Linked DNA regions of Homo sapiens: regions 2 and 3 are each linked to region 1. Evidence: promoter capture Hi-C in human tissues and cell types (Jung and others, 2019). All regions are on one chromosome and are shown on one strand. The core of a region is centred on a gene start or on the middle of the fragment in contact, and the rest is flanking DNA. Distances in the headings are between cores, read along the strand shown. Region 1 holds the start of REEP1 (receptor accessory protein 1). Region 2 overlaps REEP1 (receptor accessory protein 1). Region 3 has its middle 42 kb from the start of REEP1.

Region 1 (3,925 bases), core at 673-3,172:
CTGGGCGTGGTGGCAGGCGCTTGTAATCCCAGCTACTCGGGAGGCTGAGGCAGGAGAATCGCTTGAACCCAGGAGGCGGAGGCTTCAGTGAGCCGAGACTGTGCCACTGCACTCTCCAGCCTGGGCGACAGAGCGAGACTCGGTCTCAAAAAAAAAAAAAAAAAAAGGGCAGGGGTGAGGGAGGTGCTAATAAAACTAATGATAGTCACATGACCCAGTGCTAATAAAACTAATGATAGTCACATGACCCAGGATCAGATGCCCTCACTCCCAGCCCAGCAGGACCTACAGAGAGCCCACCAGCCAGGCCAGCTCAACTCTCCAGCCCCACCCTGAGGGCTTCCCAGAAGCCACTGGCAATATCGATCCCAGAGAGGAAACACCACCCTGAAGGCAAGACAGTGTTGGTCAGGCATGAGGCTGGGCAAGGCGTGTCAGCCACTTTCCTGTATTATTCATGTCGGCTCTGCCAGCAGAAATCTTCTAAATATTTAACATGCCACCTCAAGGTGCAGCGCAAACACCCCGCAGTCAGGAACAGCTGTGGAGAGGCCTTCACGGAATGACTTGGGGGCTGAGAGGCACAGACACTGGCTTTGGGAGGAAAGCCCTGAATGGTGGCGGGAGACAATGCTGAGATCCACTTCGGAAGGGAAAATCAGTAAAGAAGGGAAGGGAGATGGGTGGTGTTTCAAAACGTGGGGAGTGATGGTGCACAATCACTGGGGTCCAGAGCCCCGTGTTCTCAGACAAAGAAAAAGCCCGAGGTGCCTGCCACCCTCCTCCCCGCCTTAGACTCCCCACACCCATTTCAGCCCCTGCTAGCTACAGCAGGTGGCAAATCTGTTCTGACTCAGGCCAGGATGGTTAGGGAAGAACAGGGACTTGGAACAGCCACGTCTATCTCCAAAGGAGAATAAATCCACCGGGGAAGCTCTTCAAACGCCTACAGGTCCTGGGGCTTGAAGGAGAAAATCGGCCCCCACGCCCACCCCCAATGACTTCACACAGACCTCACCCTAGATGACTCTGCGCTCTCCTGCAAGGCCTGGGAGGTGTCATCGCCACCATGCGGGTGGCTGTCACTTGAAAATTTCCCGTGCATTCCTGGAGGTACCTGCCCCTGTCTCTCAATCCCCTGCAAAAGGAGTCGGAGCCGGGGGCTCCAGGCGTTTACTCCAAGATTCACATGCGTCTTCCCATGTCCCAGCTGCCTTTGCCGCTGTCGATGCAGACACCTAAAAAGGAGGATTTTTCCAACCCCACTGGGAGCCCCGCCTCTGCCTCTCCACCCGTTCCGCGCTGACCCTCCAGGCAGCGCCCCTGGTTCGTCTGCGCTGTCCTTTCCACCTGACAAAAGCTGGGGCGGCGGGGCGCGGCGCCGGGCGACCTCACATTTCTGCCAAAGGAGAGAGACGCGTGTCCGCGGTGCGCCCATTCGGGGCCTCTGCAAATCGACCGAGCTGAGGAACAAAGCGGCCAGCGCGCGGCGAGACGCAGCCCCCACGGAACCCCCGAGCGCCCCAGCCCTCGCCGTCCCGGCCCAGCCCCCCGCAAGCGGCCGCCGGCGCCGGCTGCCTCCTGGGCAGCAGCCGCGTCCTGCGCCGCCCGTCCGCCCGCAGGCGTCCTCGGCGGCTACTGTACCTGCTAAATTTAGCTGCGCCGGGTATTAATAGCCCGAGCCACTGGGACCGGGCGCTGTAGGGGCGCGCGCAGCCCGGGGCCGGGGGCGGGGAGGGAGGGGACGGAGGGGCGCGGGGGAGAAGGCCACTTACACCACCAGCCTGGAGATGATCCATGACACCATGGCGGGCAGGCGGGCGGGCGAGGCCCGGGCGGCGCGGCTCGGCTAGGCTGCGGGCGGCGCGGGCTGCTGCGGCGTTCCCGGAACGTCAGTCAGCTCACGGCAGCCGCCGCCAGACTGAGCGCGCCCGCCGCCCTGCCCGGCGTTCGCGCGTTGGCGCAGCCGCGGCACGTTCTGGCGGCGGCGGCGGCGGCCCCAGCCCCCCGGGGCTCGGCGGGCCCGCAGCGATTGGGCGGTGAGCTGGTCAGGGCACCCGCGGGCCCGCCCCGTCCCGCTCGCCCTGGCCCCCGGCTGAAGGCGGGCGCGTCCTGCGCGCTCCCCGGGGCACCGGCCCCGCCAAAGGAACCCTGCAGCGGCCCCGTTTGCAGGGCAGGGACCCGGGTGCTGCCCCACCCTCAGCGTTCCAGCGGAGAAACTGAAGTCCGAACCTGAACCTCGGGAATCTGTCTGCACCTGTCTAGGTGGGATGCTGTCATCCCTCATTCAGCTAGTGCGTTAGCCTCATAAAGGGTTTACCTGGATCCAGACCTAACCTCTTCAGTCTGTCCGTTGCTCAGCACTTTCTGCATAAGAAACAAACCTGGGCGCTTGCCTCCCTACTTAAAATTCTACAGAGTCCCTATATGATCGTGGTACCTGCCTAGAACCGTGTTGCCAAGACCATTCCCCCAAATAGTCCTCTAGCTCTTTTCCCTCCAGGCATCTTGGACTCAAATATTTGCTGTTTCTTCTTCCCTGTCAGTACACGCCACGCCTCATCGTCCTGCCTTGGTTTGATTCAGCTCCTTCTTCTAGGCTGGGCTGAAGGGCTACTTCTTCCTAGGGAAGGCCTTTCCTTGGGGGCTGCTCCGGGCCCTAGGAGGAGACTAGAAGCTGCGACTGCTTAGCACCAGTGCCCCGCTGAGCCACGTTGAACTCTTAGGCAAAAGGGAACTTGTGCACCCTATATAAACGTTTTTATGTATTTTTTAAAATACCGTATTAAATATTATGGTGGTTTTTTTTGTTGTTGTTGTTTTTTTATGAGACAGAGTCTCGCTCTGGGGTGCAGTGGCGCGATCTCGGCTCACTGCAAGCTCCGCCTCCCGGGTTCAAGCGATTCTTCTGCCTCAGCCTCATGAGTAGCTGAGATTACAGGAGTGCGCCACCACGCCCAGCTAATTTTTGTATTTTTAGTAGAGACGGGGTTTCACCATGTTGTCCAGGCTGGTCTCAAACTCCTGACCTCGTGATCCGCCCGCCTTGGCCTCCCAAAGTGCTGGGATTACAGGAGTGAGCCACCTATTATGTATTTTAGTTGCTGAATTTTATGGCACCTCTTAAATGTTGCACCCTCACTGAGCGCCTCACTCTGCTCACCCTAGTCCCGGCCGCAGATAGTACATTATTCTGTTACACTGGAAACGCTTTGTCCTCTACTCCTAGGCTCTGCTGCTGCTTTTCCCACCCTCCAATAGCTTAGGTTCTGCGTGGTGCTCCCAGCGCCCTGTCCTTTGCTGATGATGGTGTCATGTATAATTCAGTGTCAGATGTGAGAAGCGCAGGAGACAGCTTAGTACTCTCAGATGTAGCAGAATCTGTGCGTGCGTGTGCCTGATATAGTCAGAAGAAAGACTTCACGGACAACAAAGGGACTGCAGATGAGACATGCTCTCATATCTCAGGTCTCCAAAGAACCCATAAAATAGCTGTAATGTAGCAGTTTTTTCATGCTGCCTTGACCCAGTTTTGAGGCTCAGGCTGGAGGCTGGTCAGTTCCCCTTCTCCAGCAGTCTATTAACTGCATACCCCCAACCACTTCCGTTAGCAGGCTCTCACACGCGGGACACTATACACCTGTCCAGGGCTAGGCACCAAACAACTAGTTACAGCCCCTGTACTTCAGAACCCGCTGAAATTATCCAAATTAGCCTATCCTATATCTGCTTGCCTTATTTCACTCTTTCCTTCCCTCAGAAACCATGATAAAGATGTTTGTCCACAATTCCCCTCTCTCCCTCTCTCTGTGACAGACCCTGGCCCTGAGTGGACCTGCATGGTGTGCTGTGATCTCTCCAGGAAACTGTGGATATAAAAAGCTCTAAAACTCTTTCTAGCTTCTCTCTCTTGATCTGTGTCTGG
Region 2 (3,925 bases), core at 741-3,240, 43 kb before region 1:
CCCTGGGCCATCTGATAGGAAAGGCAGGCAGCAAGCAGATAATTATACAAATAACTGGTTATTGTCATCACAATAATTGTGATGAGTCCTGCTGAGTCTGTTTTGAAGAAGAGAGAAGATTCACTTACAATGACTGTCCTGTGGTTGCCTATTTCCCAGCTTATGCTCCCCTCCCCAGACCTCAGAGCCAGAGACCTGACCCCCAGCCAGAGGGTTCTGTGCTGAAGGGTTATGGTTTTCTCCTTCTGGTGGGCTTCATCTAAAGCCCCCTACATGGTATATATTTAGGCTGAGAAAAGGACTGCTGGGCCTTCCTATGTGCACCATGAAAAAGGGGTGGGGGGAAAGAGTGAGGAGCTCTTTGAGATTGACTGGCAGGTGGTCAGCGGGTATCTGTGGGGTTTTCTGGGGACTTGTCTGCTCAGCTGGTGCCCTCCTCGCTCTCACACAGCAGGTACTGATGTCCTCTGCCAGGGCCCAGCCAACTTTGAGTGCATGTGTCGGTCTGGCAGAGGGTATCAAAAGCCCTGGGGAAGGCCATGGGAACAGGACAAACCTTTACTAATGCCCACCAGGCACTGTACAAGGCACTGATCCCCACAGAAGTCAGGTGAGGCAACTACTATCCATTCCCTCTTACACAGGAGGGACCTGGGACATTAAGAGGTTAAATTCATTCATTCATTCATTCATTCATTCATTTGTTTGTTCGTTCATCCAACAGACATTTATTCAGTCCCTACTCTGTGTCAGATTCTGAGGCCAACACAAGGTCACAGAGCTGCTAACTGAATGAGCTGGATTCAAATGCTCTATCTGGCTTCAAACTCTGCTCTTCTAATCCAACTTGATACCTCAAAGTCAGAGGTTTTATCTTCAGGGAAGTCACAACATGGCCGGGGTGCCAGGTGTATCAGAACAAGAAAGGTGGCAGGCAAAGCTGCGTGTGCTAAGTATGGAAGGAAAGACAAATGATGATGGGCAAAACTACGGAGATAGAAAACAGATGAGCTGCCAGAGGCTGGCAGTGGGGTAGAAGAAGATGATGACTACAAAGGGGCATGGAGGAAGTTTTGGAGGCAATGAACCTGTTCTATATTTACACTGTGGTTGTGATTACATGACTGTATGCACTTGTCAAAGCTCACAAAACTATACAGTAAAAAGGGTGAATTTCACTGTGTGCAAATTATTAGGAATTTATACAGAAAATTTAATCAGGAAAATCAAGATTTGAATTCAAATTATACAGGAAAGTTCAGGTTTTTCCAGCCCCCTCACTCAGCTGTACTGAGGCTGCATCGCTTCTGTTTATAGTCCTATGACACCATGTGAACAAACACTGCCAAGTGAGGCTGGTCTTATACGTTTAGTTACTGATTTCCCCATCTGTTAAAATCAGCCAAGTTAACAGAGTAGAATGGTTATGTCTCAAAAAGATATTTGCATACCCATGTTCATGGCAGCATTACTCACAATAGCCAAAAGATGGAAGCAATCCAAGTGACCATCAACAGATGAATAAATAATGAATATTATTCATCCTTTCAAAGGAAGAAAACGCTGACACTTGCTAAGATGGATGAACTATGAGTATATTATGCTAAGTTAAATGGGCCAATCACAAAAAGGCAAATACTGAGTGATTACATTTATAAGTGGACTACTCTAGATAACTCAACTCCTTAACTAGATAAGTAAAACTCATAAAAATAGAAAGTAGAATGGTGGTTGCCACAGGCTGGGGGGATATAGGGAGTTGATAATGGGTGTGGAGTTATAATTTTCAGTTTTGCAAGATGGAAGCTTCTGGAGATTGGTTGTACAACAATGTGCAATAAATATACACTACTGACTGTACATTTAAAAATGGTTAAGATGGTAAATTTTATGTCATGTGCTTTTATCACAATTAAAATAAAATAAATTCATGACATTTAGGAACCAAAAAAATATCTGCATGAATATTTGTTCAAAATCATCCATAGTTAAAAATTTTATAAAAACAGAATTTACTTAGTATAGGTCATTAGTTCATTTAATCCATAAAAGATTACTTCTAAAAAAGTTATAAGAAAACAGAATATATAATCTTTCAATTTATATCTGTTTGATGCGACAATGCTATTTTGTAAAATTTACTAAAATTTTCAAACATCTCAATTTATTCAATCCATTGTAATGACATTTAAGATGAGTGAAAATTAACAAGTAATGCAAGTAAATATATTTTTTACTGGTTCTGGTTGTAGAGGAAAAAACATTGCTGTATATTATGTTCTATTAAGAAGTTACACTATTAAAATGTTTCTGAGATTTATATTTTAGATAGATAGATAGATAGATAGATAGATAGATAGATAGATAGATAGGTTTCTAACTTGTTCCAGAAAGGATCTGAGATGGCTTGGTTATAAATAATTGTGTGGCTCATAAGAAATTACCATGATTCCAGGCCACTGGGTTTGTCTGGCAGCAGAAGGGCTCAGAACTGCTAACAAAAGCACGGTTGTTACCTCACTAGAAGGGGAGGGTGGGACTATGTCCCACCTGCCCACAGAAGAACAAGGATTGTGTGAAACAAAGGATGTTTGGCTCAGGTCCAGCATGGCACCCTGATTAGAACACAAAACCTATTTTAAAAAAAAAGAAAAGAAAAGAAAAAAAGCAAGCTGGAAAACAGCAGCTTTACTTCAATGAGCAAAATTTAAATTCTGAGAGAATTTTCAGCACGTGTCTTAATTATGAGTGAGTCAGGACAATCAGGGAACAAATGCAGCTCGCAGCTGCTAAAGTGCGCTTCTGGCTGGAAGTTCTGGACCTTGCTCCCGAGTTGGCCAACCTGGGGAAGAAGGAAGCAGAGAGACTGGGGCGGGAACCCACCGTATGTACCTCTCGCACACCTGCCCTGCAGATGACTTAGGAGAGCCACTGCTGGCTGCACAGCTCCAAGGGCCCTGGCCACCATGTGCAATACAGACCCTGTGTAAGGAAGGTGAGGTCCTCCTTTGGATAACAATTTTTTATGTTTGATGCTTTGAAGGGCAATCCTCGGTAATGCTCTAAAAAGTATGGTGGAATACTGCACAATAGTTAAAAAGTTAAAATATAACAAACAGCTGCTTTGTGTTTTGTTTTTGTTTTGAGACGGAGTCTTGCTCTGTCACCCAGGCTGGAGTGCTTCGGTGTGATCTCCACTCACTGCAAGCTCCGCCTCTGCAAGCTCCGCCTCCCGGATTCAAGCAATTCACCTGCCTCAGCCTCCCGAGTAGCTGGGACTACAGGCGCCCACCACCACGCCCAGCTAATTTTTTGTGTTTTTAGTAGAGACGGGGTTTCACCGTGTTAGCCAGGATGGTCTCGATCTCCTGACCTCGTGATCCGCCCGCCTTGGCCTCCCAAGGTGCTAGGATTACAGGCGTGAGCCACCGCGCCCAGCCCACAGCTGCTTTGTTTAGAAAATAAAGATATTTCTCTCAACTACCACAGAATGAGAATTCCTCTTTAACAACTGTGCCATTTGCTTTTGCAGATCTGAAGAGAATAGATAAAACTAGGTCACTAAGGAGAAAAAAATTCCAAGACAATAACAGAAAGAGGTAGCTCTGAGCATGGAAATGTAAGAAGTTTTATTTGCTTCAGAATGAAAACAATATACATTCTTTCCATTTATGAGCCTCAAATGGCCACAATCATAGGTGACCATAAGGGAAAGTCCAAGTGAAGAATGTCCTATTATCCAGGAATCAAGACTAAAAAGGAAAGCTTCACACTTTGGGGAAAAAAAGTTACCAGTATAGCACTCCTCAGTAATTAGCACTGGTTACAATACAATGCACGCTCTGTACACAGCTTTTAGCAGTTTATATCCATTTGCACATACAAAAACTCTACGAAGTAGACATGATTATAATTTCCGTTTCAC
Region 3 (3,925 bases), core at 586-3,085, 42 kb after region 1:
CTGTTTTTATGCTAGTAGCCTTGTAGAATATTCTGAAGTCAGGTAGAGTGATGCCTCCAGCTTTGTTCTTTTTGCTCATGATGTCTTTGGCTATTCAGGCTCCTTGTGGTTCCATACACATTTTTGGATTGTTTTTTCTATTTCTGTGAAGAATGTCACTGGTATTTTAATAAGAATTGCATTGAATCTGTAGATCACTTTGGGTAGTGTGGACATTTTAATAATATTATTTCTTACAACCTCTGAACATAGTATGTCTTTCCATTTTTTATGTCCTCTTTATTTCATCAGTGTTTTATAGTTTTCATTGGAAATATCTTTCACTTTCTTGGTTAAATTTACTTCTAGGCATTTTTATAGCTATTATAAATAAAATTGCTTTCTTAATTTTTTTAGATTGTTTGCTATTAGTGTACAGAAATGCTACTTTTTTTTTTTTAAGACAAAGTCTCACTGTGTCGCACAGGCTGGAGTGCAGTGGTGTGATCTCAGCTCACTGCAACCTCCACCTCCTGGGTTCAAGCAATTCTACTGCCTCAGCCTCCCGAGTAGCTGGGACTACAGGCCCACACCACCATGCCCAGTTAATTTTTTGTATTTTTAGGAGAGACAGGGTTTCACTATGTTGGTCAGGCTGCTCCCCAACTCCTGACCTCAGGTGATCTCCTGCCTCGGCCTCCCAAAGTGCTGGGATTACAGGCATGAGCCACTGCTCCCAGCCGTTACTAATTTTTGTACATTGATTTTTGTATTATCCAACTTTACTGAATTCATCGATCAGTTCTAACAGTTTTTTAGTGGAGTCTTTAGGATTTTTAAAATATGAGATCAAGTTGTTTGCAAACAGGAAGATTTTGATTTTCTCTTTTCCAATTTAGATGCCCTTTTCTTTTCTTTTTTTTTTTTTTGAGACGGAGTCTCGCTCTGCCGCCCAGGCTGGAGTGCAGTGGACGATCTCGGCTCACTGCAACCTCCGCCTCCCAGGTTCACGCCATTCTCCTGCCTCAGCCTCCTGAGTAGCTGGGACTACAGGTGCCTGCCACCATGCCCGGCTAATTTTTGTATTTTTAGTAGAGACAGAGTTTCACCATGTTAGCCAAGATGGTTTCAATCTCCTGACCTCGTGATCCGCTCACCTTGGCGTCCCATTTCTTTTCTTTTCTTTTCTTTTCTTTTCTTTCCTTTCCTTTGCTTTCCTTTCCTTTCCTTTTCTTTTCCTTTCCTTTTCTTTCTCTCTTTCTTTCTCTCTCTTTCTTTCTTTCTCTCTTTTTTTTTTTTGCCTAATTGCTCTGACCTTAGACTTCCAGTGCTATGTTGAATAAAAGTAGTTAAAGTAGGCATCCTTGTCTTGTTCCAGATCTTAGTGGAAAGGCTTTCAAATTTTCCCTGTTCAGTATAACATTAGGTGTGAGTTTGTCATATATGGCCTTTATTGTTTTGAAGTACATTTCTTTGATACCTGATTTGTTGAGAGTTCTTATCATAAGAAATGTTGAATTGTATCAAATGCTTTTTCTGCATCTATTGAGATAATCATATGGTTTCTGTCCTTCATTCTGTTCAAGCAACGTATCACAGTTGTTGATTTGTGTATGTTGAATCATCTTTGCATCCCTAGATAAGTCCTACTTGACCATGGTGTTTTATTTTTTTGATGTGCTGTTGCATTCAGTTTGCTAGTATTTTGTTGAGGATTTTTGCATCTATGGTCATCAGGGATATTAGTCTGTAGTTTTCTTTTGTGTGTGTGTCCTTCTCTGGTTTTGGTATCAGGGTAATGCTGGCCTTGTAGAGTGAGTTAGAAAGAATTCCCTCCTCTGGAGTTTTTTGGAAAAGTTTGAGAAGAATTGGTATTAATTCTTCTTTGCAAGTTTGGTAGAATTCAACAGTCAAACCATCCAGTCATTGACTTGTCTTATTGGGAGACTTTTTATTACTGATTCAATCTCATTATGTATTATTGGCCTGTTTATGTTTTCTATTTTTTCATGGTTCAATCTTAGCAGGTTGTATGTGTCTAAGAGTTTACTCATTTCCTCTAGGTTTTTCAATTTATTGGCACATAGTTTTTCATACTAGTCTCTAATAATTCCTTGTATTCTGTGGTATCACATGTAACATATTTTCTAAATCTCAGATTCTATTTCTTAATCTAGCTAAAGGCTTGTCAATTTTGTTTACCTTTTTTTAAAACTAACTTTTGTTATGTTAATCTTTTATATTATTTTAGTCTCAATTTCATTTATTTCTGCTCTAATCTTTATTATTTCTTTCATCGTACTAATTTTGGATTTGTTTTGTTCTTGCTTTTCTAGTTCCTTGAGGTATATCATTAGTTTGTTTATTTGACATTTTTTGACTTTCTTGATGTAGGTGTTTATGGCTATAAACTTCCCTATCGGTACTACTTTTGTTGTGTCCCATATGTTTTGGTATGGTGTGTTTCATTTTCATTTGTTTTAATAAATATTTAAACTTTCTTCTCAATTTCTTCACTGACCCTTTGGTCATTGAGCAGCATGTTGTAAAATGTACGTGCATTTGTACAGTTTCCAAAGTTCCTCTCTTATTGATATCTAATTTTATTCCATTGTGGTCAGAAAAGATACTTGATATGATCTTGATTTTAAAAAATATTTTGTGGCTTGTCTTGTGGCTTAACATATGGTCTATCCTGGAGAATGTTCCATATGCTAATAAGAATGTGTATTCTGCATCTATTGGATAAAATGTTCTGTAAATGTCCATTGGGTCCATTTGGTCTATAGTGTAGTTTAACTCTAATGTTTCCTTGTTGATTTTCTGTCTGGATGACCTTTCCATTGCTGAAAGTGAGCCATTGAAATATCCTACTATTATGGCATCGCAGTCAATCTCTCCCTTTAGGTCTATTAATATATTTGCTTTCTATATTTAGATGTCCAGTGTTGGGCATATATGTATTTATCATTTTTATACCCTCTTGCTCTATTGACTCATTTATAAATACATAATGGCCTTCTTTGCCTTTTTTTTTTTTTTTGCCATTCTTACTTAAAGTCTATTTTAGTATAGATATCCTGCTCATTTTTGGTTTCTTGTCTAATATAAGTACAGCTATTCCTTTTTTTTTTTTTTTTTTTTTTTGAGATGGAGTCTTGCTCTGTCACCCAGGCTGGAGCGCAGTGGCACCATCTTGGCTCACTGCAGCCTCTGCCTCCTGGGTTCAAGTGATTCTCCTGCCTCAGCCTCCCAAGTAGCTGGGATTACAGGTGCGTGCCACCATGCCCAGCTAATTTTCTTATATTTTCAGTAGAGACGGGATTTCACCATGTTGGCCAGACTCCTGACCTCAGGTGATCCACCCACCTTGCCCTCCCAAAGTGCTGGGATTACAGGCTTGAGCCACCATGCCCAGACCTGGTTTTTATCTAATATAAGTATAGCTATTCCATTTTTCATCGAAATATCTTTTTCCATTTTTTCACTTTCAGTCTTGTGTGTATCTTTTTCCATTTTTTCACTTTCAGTCTTGTGTGTATTTATAGGTGAAGTGAGTTTCTTGTAGGCAACGTATAGTTAGGTCTTATTTTTTCTTTAATCCATTCAGCCACTCTGTGTCTTTTAATTGGATAATTAAATTCATTTACATTCAAGATTATTATTGATAGGTAAGGACTTACTACTACCATTTTGTCACTTGTTTTCTGGTTTGTTTTGTAGACTCTTTCTTCCTTTTTTCTGTCTTCCTTTGTAGTTACGTGGTTTTCCCTAGTAGAGATGTTTTGATTGCATGCTATTTATTTTTCTATTATAAATGTATCTATTATAAATTTTTGCTTTGTGGTTACCATGAAGCTTATAAAACACTCTTACAGTTATAACATGTTATTTTAAATGGATAACGACTTAACTTTATTAACAAAGCAAAGAAACAAAATTAAAC

Evidence for each region. Contacts are between HindIII fragments. The study calls those that stand out against the background at their distance.
Region 2: a fragment that was not itself captured here is called in contact with the fragment with the promoter of REEP1 in region 1 in 3 of the 25 tissues and cell types used here (bladder, heart right ventricle and neural progenitor cells).
Region 3: a contact is called between a fragment that was not itself captured here and the fragment with the promoter of REEP1 in region 1, in 1 of the 25 tissues and cell types used here (adrenal gland).

Annotation. Positions count from the first base shown.
Region 1 is chr2:86,335,704-86,339,628 of GRCh38, forward strand. It overlaps REEP1 (receptor accessory protein 1), which reads right to left and starts at 1,923. Exons shown (of 9, transcript NM_001371279.1): 1 at 1,776-1,923. The coding sequence starts at 1,807. The HindIII fragment of the contact is 14,274 bases long and covers 1-3,925 here.
Region 2 is chr2:86,292,399-86,296,323 of GRCh38, forward strand. The region is part of intron 1 of REEP1 (receptor accessory protein 1); the gene reads right to left. Among named protein-coding and RNA genes, the nearest start is that of REEP1, 43 kb to the right of the region's middle. The HindIII fragment of the contact is 3,803 bases long and covers 90-3,892 here.
Region 3 is chr2:86,377,450-86,381,374 of GRCh38, forward strand. No RefSeq gene overlaps it. Among named protein-coding and RNA genes, the nearest start is that of REEP1, 42 kb to the left of the region's middle. The HindIII fragment of the contact is 5,724 bases long and covers 1-3,925 here.